2 separate regions of the Homo sapiens genome follow, and region 2 is linked to region 1. The links are contacts of gene promoters, found by promoter capture Hi-C in human tissues and cell types (Jung and others, 2019). All regions are on one chromosome and are shown on one strand. The core of a region is centred on a gene start or on the middle of the fragment in contact, and the rest is flanking DNA. Distances in the headings are between cores, read along the strand shown.

Region 1 (3,887 bases), core at 1,375-3,874:
TGTGAACCCCTCGGCTGAGCACTCCTCATGCCTCCCTGCCTCTCACAGTGGAAAGACATTCTGGTGAGGGGGATGGTATGTGCAAAGTCCAGAAGAGGCACACCGGGAGCAGGGGTGTCAGCGCAGCAAACATGAAGACAGCATAAGAGTGCAGGGAAATTAGGTTGAGACCAGACCACGAAGAGACTGGAAGCCATGTAGAGAGCCAATACCACAAGAAAAGTGAAGTTTAGGGGCTCAGCATGGCAGCACAGGTCAGATGGAGTGGAGGGGTAGGGAGGGTGTGGAGTGGGGAAGCAGCAAGAGGCTGGATTTGAGGTTCTGAGGTCACGGTGCTGAGGTAGAGGGTGGGGTAGAAATGGAAAAGATGAGCAGACACTAGCAGCATTTAGAGAAAAAGATCATCAGAACGTGGAATATGGAGGAGACAGAAGAAAAAAGAATGAAAAGTGCTTCTTGGAGAAGAATGAGGGCTGAAGGAGAGAGCTGGGACAGTGATTTGCTGGGGGAACTGGGCAGAGTTCTGGGGAAGAGTAGGGGTCTTTCATGGGGTCCCACGCCTGGGTCACAGAGAGAACCAAGACCTTCATGAACTGGCTTCTGTGGTTCTGAGACTGATGGCCGGGAAGGGAGTGGGAGGTCAAAGGTTTTCAAGGGCCCTTTTCCCAGGAGGCCAGTGCTGTGTCGGGGGATGGGGTCTCACCTGCCTGCGCTCCGTCCTGTCCAGGTCGTGGATGAACTGTAAAGTACAGGAAAAGGCTGGTGAGACCTGCCCTGACCCTCTGCCACCTGCCCCTCTCCTCCTGGGTATGGCTCACCCATCACCCACCTTCATAATGGGCTGCGATCGCTCTTCGAGCCCGTGTTTTCCGGCCTTTAGGTGCTGAGGATCAAGGAAAGACAGATGAGCAAAGCGGGCCCTAGTGGGGGTCCCAGAGCAACTCTCCCAGCCCCATTCCCCTCTCAGGAACCCTGGCATCCTTATTCTTGTCCAGACTCCTGGCCTTAGAATCTCAGGCCTCATCTTCCTCAGTAAGTAGAGTGACTATAATTTGTCATCCACACTGGGATACTGCTGAGAGCAAAACGGGAAGCTGCTATTAATCACACCGAGATAACAGGTGGGGGCCAGGACAACTGCATGCCGACTTGGACACGTGGTCATCCGGCCACCCCATCATCCCATTCCTAAGTCTCTTTGCCTACCGGGGCCCAGGCCTCTGACTGCCAGGCCTAGTCTCCATCAGGATCCCAGTAGTTCTTCTAACTCATGGCCACCCTGCCTTCCTGTTTGGGGTAGGGTCTGAAGGAGCACATCCATATGACAGAAGGAGCTTCAGAGGAGGGCGAGAATCCCTAGGTTTGAGTCTTGGCTGGTTAGCTGCATGACTCTGAACTCCTTTCACCCTCCGTGCCTCAGTTTCTCCCTGTGGATAATGGTTTTTGCTCTGCCCGCTTCCTGAGGTTGGGATAGAGGGATGCTCACCACTTCTGCGAGGCCGAACTAGTCGGTTCAGGAAAGGCGCAGGATCCTGGCTTTCTTCTGTCTGGGGATTCAGTTCCTAGGGGAATTAGGGCAGGGTTCAACCACAGACTCCCAGAGATATAAAGTGAGACATACGGGGCCTGTCAGGAGAGCCACCAGCCAGCAATAGACACAGAAGTCAGGGACAGATTAAGCCCCTCAGCCAACTACAGCTGGGGCCCCGGGCAAAGGTGAAGCTGGGAGTCAGGCCCCAGTCCTCACCCTTTCCTCTAGACCAGCTACACTTTCCCACCCACACACACAACCAACGCAGACCCTGCATTCAATTGGCACATTGCACACATGCCCGCACCCAGTCACCACGCACAGAGGATACACACCCTGTACACAACCGCACCCCTCTTCCACGCAGACTCACATATCTTATACAACCACGTCACCCCCAGCCAATAAACACCTCAGACTCAGGTGGCACAACCCCAGCACAAACCCCTCACACAGAGTTGTCACCACGCACACACACCCCTGCAGACACGCACCCATGCACGCACTGTGTTCACACACACCCTGCACACACCTCGAGTACGGCTGGCACAGCTGCACACACCTGCAGCCTCGGCTGTGCACACTTCCCATGCCCCAGCAGCCTGCAGACCGCGCCCACGCCCACTCACCGACGGGTCCTGGTCCTCCTCTGCCACCAGCTCCTCCTGGGCAGGCTCCTGCTGGGAAGGAGGGAGCGTCACCCTGTGCCGCTCCACCTGACATCTCACCCTCCACCCATCCTCCCTTCCCCTTGCCTTCAGCCCACGCGGCCCCCAGCGGCCCCTCTGCAGTCTCAGCTCCTGATGTGCCCAAGAAGGGGTGCGCAGCGGGGCCTCACCTGGGCGGACAGCGATGCCCGGCTCCCCAAACTGACCACGGCCAGCAGGAGGCCGAGGCAGGCCAGCGCCAGGCCCAGGCCCAGCGCGAGCGGGACCAGCAGGGCGGTGCCCGGCTCCCCCCGGCGCCCCCTCCGCCTCTGGCTCCGACGGGCGGCCATGGGGGCGGGGGGCTGTGCCTGCCTCACCGCCCCCCCATCCCGGGACCCGAGGGATCGGGGGAGGGGGAGCCGGCGGGCGGATCGGGCCGGGGAGAGGGAGGGGCAAGGGAAACGGGGCGGGAGGGGGCGCTGGGGACAGGAAGCCGGACGCTGTGTGTGATCAAACTCCGAGCCTCTCGCCGGGCGCTGTGCGCGCAGCGAACGGAGTGGGCGCCCACCCGACCTCTGAGCGCCCAGCCCGGGCGTGCACCACCAGGGCGAGGTCCGTTGCGTGCGGCCGCGGGAGCGACGGGGCTATGCGTGTGCGGGCACCTCCTGCGGGGAGGTGGGGAACTCAGGAAGGCCTGTTGGTTCAGATTCTTCTGTGTCCCTGTGTCTTCAGAGATAAGGACCCTCCTTTCCCCCAGGTGCAGGGAGGGCGCCTCTCGCAGGAGGCTGTTATTTGCTTCTTCAGGAAAAGGGCAGGGAGTTCCAGGTTGTATGACCTGGTTCAGGGAAGAAGGGCAGGAGAAGGTAAGAAAGATCCTTCGGCTTCTGCGGTTTTCTCAAATTCCTTCAGCTTAAAACACTCACTGTGCCGGTAGCACGTTCTGAAGCCCATCATTACCAATGATTGCCAAGCATCTGAGGAGGACCAGCAGCATGCAAAAGAAACACCAAAATTGGTCCGGCAGGTGGCTTACGCCTGTAATCCCAGAAGGCCAAGGCTGGGGGCCAGGAGTTCAAGATCAGCCTGGGCAAGAGCAAGACCCCATCTCTACAGAAAAGTTTTAAAAAATTAGCCCACGCCTGTAGTCCCAGCTACTCAGGAGGCCGAGGTAGGAGGATTGTTTGAGCCCAGGAGTTTGAGGCTGCAGTGAGCTGTGATTGCACCACTACACTCCAGCCTGGGCAACAGACCTTGTCTCAAAAAGAAAGAAAGAAAGGAAGAAAGAAAGAAAGGAGGGAGGGAGGGAGGGAGGGAAGGAGGGAAGGAAGGAAGGAAGGAAGGAAGGAAGGAAGGAAGGAAGGAAGGACCAAAATTGGCTGGGCGCGATGGTTCACGCCTGTAATCGCAGCACTTTGGGAGGCTGAGGCGGGTGGATCACGAGGTCAGGAGATCGAGACCTGCCTGGCCAAGATGGTGAAACCCTGTCTCTAATAAAAATACAAAAAAATTAGCCGGACGTGGTGGCAGGCGCCTGTAGTTCCCAGCTACTCGGGAAGCTGAGGCAGAGAATTGCTTGAACCCAGGAGACAGAGGTTGCAGAGAGCTGAGATCACGCCACCACACTCCAGCCTGGGCAACACAGCAAGACCCTATCTCAAAAAAAAAAAAAAAGAAAGAAAGACCAAAATTAACAAACAAAATTTGACATT
Region 2 (3,755 bases), core at 727-3,226, 380 kb before region 1:
AGATGACTGTCCACAACCTGTACCTGTTTGACCGGAATGGAGTGTGTCTGCACTACAGCGAATGGCACCGCAAGAAGCAAGCAGGGATTCCCAAGGAGGAGGTGACGAGAGGGCCCCGGTGCAGCCCGGGCGACCTCTCATCTCCAAACACCTATAGTCCCAACCCAGCCCCTCCTCTCCAAACCCCAGCTCGTTCCCACCCCCCACCCCATCTCCCGCATCAACCGAGAGCTAACTCTGCCCCTCTCCCTCCAGGAGTATAAGCTGATGTACGGGATGCTCTTCTCTATCCGCTCGTTTGTCAGCAAGATGTCCCCGCTAGACATGTACGCGGAGTCAGAGAAGATGTTGGGAGGAGGGCTAGCCTTGGGAATTTGGGGATGGGGGAAACTTTCTGAAGTGGAAGGAGCATTGGCCTCCAGAGGGGGGAAAGGGTACTTAAGAGAGGCTGAGTCCGGAGCGAGAGTGCTGGAGCTGGCAGGAGTGGGGGTGGGGAGGGTCTGAAAGTAGAGAAGTTGGTGGGGGCTAAATTGAGGGGTGACGATGGGCGATGTCTTTACTCAACCAGGCTTCTACAAAGGATATGTTTAGATAAAGAGGGAGTCGATGTTTGCGGGGATCAGAAGTGTCTCTTTGGGAGAGATTCTGCTCCCATTCTTTAACACCCTCCTCATCTCTGCAGGAAGGATGGCTTCCTGGCCTTCCAAACTAGCCGTTACAAACTCCATTACTACGAGACGCCCACTGGGATCAAAGTTGTCATGAATACTGACTTGGGCGTGGGACCCATCCGAGATGTGCTGCACCACATCTACAGTGCGGTCAGTGCCAGCCCCAGGGACCCATCCCCCAGAGCTCTTCAGAACCCCAAGACTCCCTCATCTCCCCTGCCCCAATCCTACTATATGTTTGCTCAACTCAAGAGTTTTCTCAGGGGCCCTTAGGTTCTTAACTCCCACCACCACTTTCTCCTCAGAGAGGGCTTGCCTTCCAGCCCTTATTCCTTGTGCATTCACACACCCCTGAGGTTATACAAGGTTTGGGGCTAAAAACCAGAAGTATCCAAAGCCTGGCTCTAACATCTTCCCTTTCCATAGCTGTATGTGGAGCTGGTGGTGAAGAATCCCCTGTGCCCGCTGGGCCAAACTGTGCAAAGTGAGCTCTTTCGCTCCCGACTGGACTCCTATGTTCGCTCTCTGCCCTTCTTCTCCGCCCGGGCTGGCTGAAGCAACCTACCTCAAGTCTCAGGAGAATTCATGTCTGCCTGGGGCCCTTCCGAACCTGTGCCAACTAAGGGCCCCCACTGTAAGCCCCCGCACCCCCACCCCCTGCCCAGAGCAACAGCCTAAAGGCCTGCCCTGATGCTCTCCTCCTACCAGAGTGAAGCCCACAGAGTCCCTCCACCTCCACACCAGGCCCTCTCTCCAGTTTTATCCCCTGCCTAATGCTGCGAGAAGCACAGAATAAACTTTTTGTCACTCTCTGCGGCCTGAGCGTGTTGGTTTGAGGGCCCTCTCAGTCCTGCCCCACGCATGAAGGTGGAAAGTAGGGCAGCCACACCCCCTGGAGGGCCACGAAGTGGCTTTGCGGATGGGTTTCTCAACCGTGGGAATATTGATGCTTTGAGCTGGATAATTCTTTATTGTGGGGACCGTCCTGTGCTTTGTAGGATTTTAGCATCCCTGGCCACCACCCACTAGATGCTGATAGCACAGGCATGAAATCAAAAATATCTCCAAACCTTGCCGAAAGTACGCTGGGAGATACATTCCCTCCCGATTGAGAATCACTGGGCCGGGGGAAGCCTGACAGCCCTTGGGTCCCAGAGGGTGCAGGAGCCATCCTCCCCAATTCCGCTCAGAAAATATTCAAGCTGCAGAGCCTTCAGCAGGCGGGGCTTATGCAGATGAGCGGCAGGTTTGGCTGAGAGGAGGGCGGCTCTATGCAGATGAGGAGGCGGTGCCTGCATGCTGATGAGCTGGGCCCGCTGCCGACGCGGCTGGGAGCCCAGCGGGTCCCGCAGCGGTTCGCGCTGAAGTGGCATCTCTCTCCCGCCCCGCTTCCCCCTGGGTCCTTATCCTCCGAGACCTTTACCTCATCCTCGACCTTTACCCTCATCCATTTCCCCCTCCTAATCCTTGCTCCTGTGTCCCCCGTAACTGAATATCTCCACTCCTGGCGCCCCCCACGTTTCTTCCCTCCCGCCGCAAACCTCGCGACCTCCAGCAGCCCGCCCCCGCGGGCCCGATCCTGCCTGGCGGCTCCCGCCGCAGCCTCCTCAGCCTTCCCGCTCTGCCGGGGTTCGCCCCACTACGCCCCCGGTCGTCAGCCCTCGGGCTTCCCTGCTCCCCCCTCCCGTCCCCTCGGAGCCCCCTCCCCCGCCTCGGCCAGCCAGCATGCAGGTGTCTATCGCGTGTACCGAGCAGAACCTTCGCAGCCGGAGCAGTGAGGACCGTCTGTGTGGACCCCGGCCGGGCCCCGGGGGCGGTAATGGTGGGCCGGCCGGCGGGGGGCACGGGAATCCTCCGGGGGGTGGAGGGTCTGGCCCCAAGGCCCGAGCTGCACTGGTTCCCCGACCCCCAGCGCCCGCTGGGGCCCTCCGAGAGAGCACCGGCCGAGGCACTGGCATGAAATACAGGTATGGGGGTGGCCGGGCAGCCCACCCCTTCCGCTTTCCTTTCGGGACCCCTGAGACTGCTTGAGATGGCCGCCAAGACCCCTTCAAACTTCACTAAGTAGGTCTCCCTTCTTTCCATCTCTTCTTTCTGTCTCTGGCACTCCCTCACTTTGTCCCTCTCTTGGTTTCTGTCGATACCCCTGACTACGAGAATCAAGTTTACCAAGGTTGACTGGGTCCTGTCAGACCCAGGGGATGCCCCTGAGCTTCCCTCCTTACCCCTGGGAAGGTCAGGGATGCATGGATCTCCACGCTACACGGATCTCCAGGCTATGCCTCCTCCAGTGGAGTGTCCTTGGGTCCGTGTCCTGGGGAGTGGAGGGAGGGAATCAGCTTCTCACTCTGGCCTGCTCGGGGTGCCTGACCCAGATACTGCCCCTGCCTGCCCCAAAGGCTAGGTCTTCTGCGACCTTTCTTGGGTGCAAGGGGAGTGGGGCCGGTGGGAAGGATGGACCACATTTTTCATCTCCATGCTGAGGGACAGGGTCTGGGTAGACTGAAATGTAACTGACTTTATCTCAGAGGACTGCCAGACCAGAAGCTCAGAACCTGAAGTAGGGGGTAGAGGAGGGGCTCCTGCTTGGGAGTGAGCTGAGGTCACTGATCTGACCTGCTTTGTCACCTGAGGAATCTGATCCCCTCTATATGGTGGCCCTGATTGGAAAGCTGAGCTGACACCTGGGTTGGGGGCTTTGGGAGGATGAGGGGGCTCACTGGTTCAGAGACAGTCTTCACAAGTCAATAGGAACAGAGGGAGTGGAGAGGGAGAACTAGGCTTTTCTGTCTTACTCTCCCCCCTCCCCCCAGGTCCTCAATCTGCCTTTCCTCCAGGCCCATCTGCCTAGCCTAGCCAGGGACCCCTGTCTGTCTGAATGCCTGAACTTGACTTGGTTTACCTCTTCCAACCTGCCATCTACCATTTGGCACAGCACTCTGCCTGAGGGCCTGGTCTCACAAACTCACCACAATCAAACAAAATTCCTCCCAGCCCCTCACTGCACACAACCCACAGATGACTCAAACACAGACAAGACCCCAGAAGAAGGACAAACCAGACTGCACGTCTTCAATGTGATAA

What was found. Contacts are between HindIII fragments. The study calls those that stand out against the background at their distance.
Region 2: the fragment with the promoter of KCNAB3 here is called in contact with the fragment with the promoter of TNFSF12-TNFSF13 in region 1 in 1 of the 25 tissues and cell types used here (small bowel).

Annotation. Positions count from the first base shown.
Region 1 is chr17:7,547,795-7,551,681 of GRCh38, reverse strand. TNFSF12-TNFSF13 (TNFSF12-TNFSF13 readthrough) reads right to left here and starts at 2,624. Exons shown (of 11, transcript NM_172089.4): 1 at 2,370-2,624; 2 at 2,161-2,208; 3 at 1,487-1,562; 4 at 830-883; 5 at 704-739. The coding sequence starts at 2,528. It overlaps TNFSF12 (TNF superfamily member 12), which reads right to left and starts at 2,624. Exons shown (of 7, transcript NM_003809.3): 1 at 2,370-2,624; 2 at 2,161-2,208; 3 at 1,487-1,562; 4 at 830-883; 5 at 704-739. The coding sequence starts at 2,528. RefSeq lists silencers at 2,430-2,509, 2,540-2,729. The HindIII fragment of the contact is 9,091 bases long and covers 1-2,685 here.
Region 2 is chr17:7,928,077-7,931,831 of GRCh38, reverse strand. KCNAB3 (potassium voltage-gated channel subfamily A regulatory beta subunit 3) reads left to right here and starts at 1,976. Exons shown (of 14, transcript NM_004732.4): 1 at 1,976-2,638. The coding sequence starts at 2,397. It overlaps TRAPPC1 (trafficking protein particle complex subunit 1), which reads left to right. Exons shown (of 4, transcript NM_021210.5): 1 at 1-101; 2 at 256-326; 3 at 683-821; 4 at 1,098-1,483. The coding sequence starts at 3. The coding sequence ends at 1,226. RefSeq lists an enhancer at 1-172. The HindIII fragment of the contact is 19,988 bases long and covers 1-3,755 here.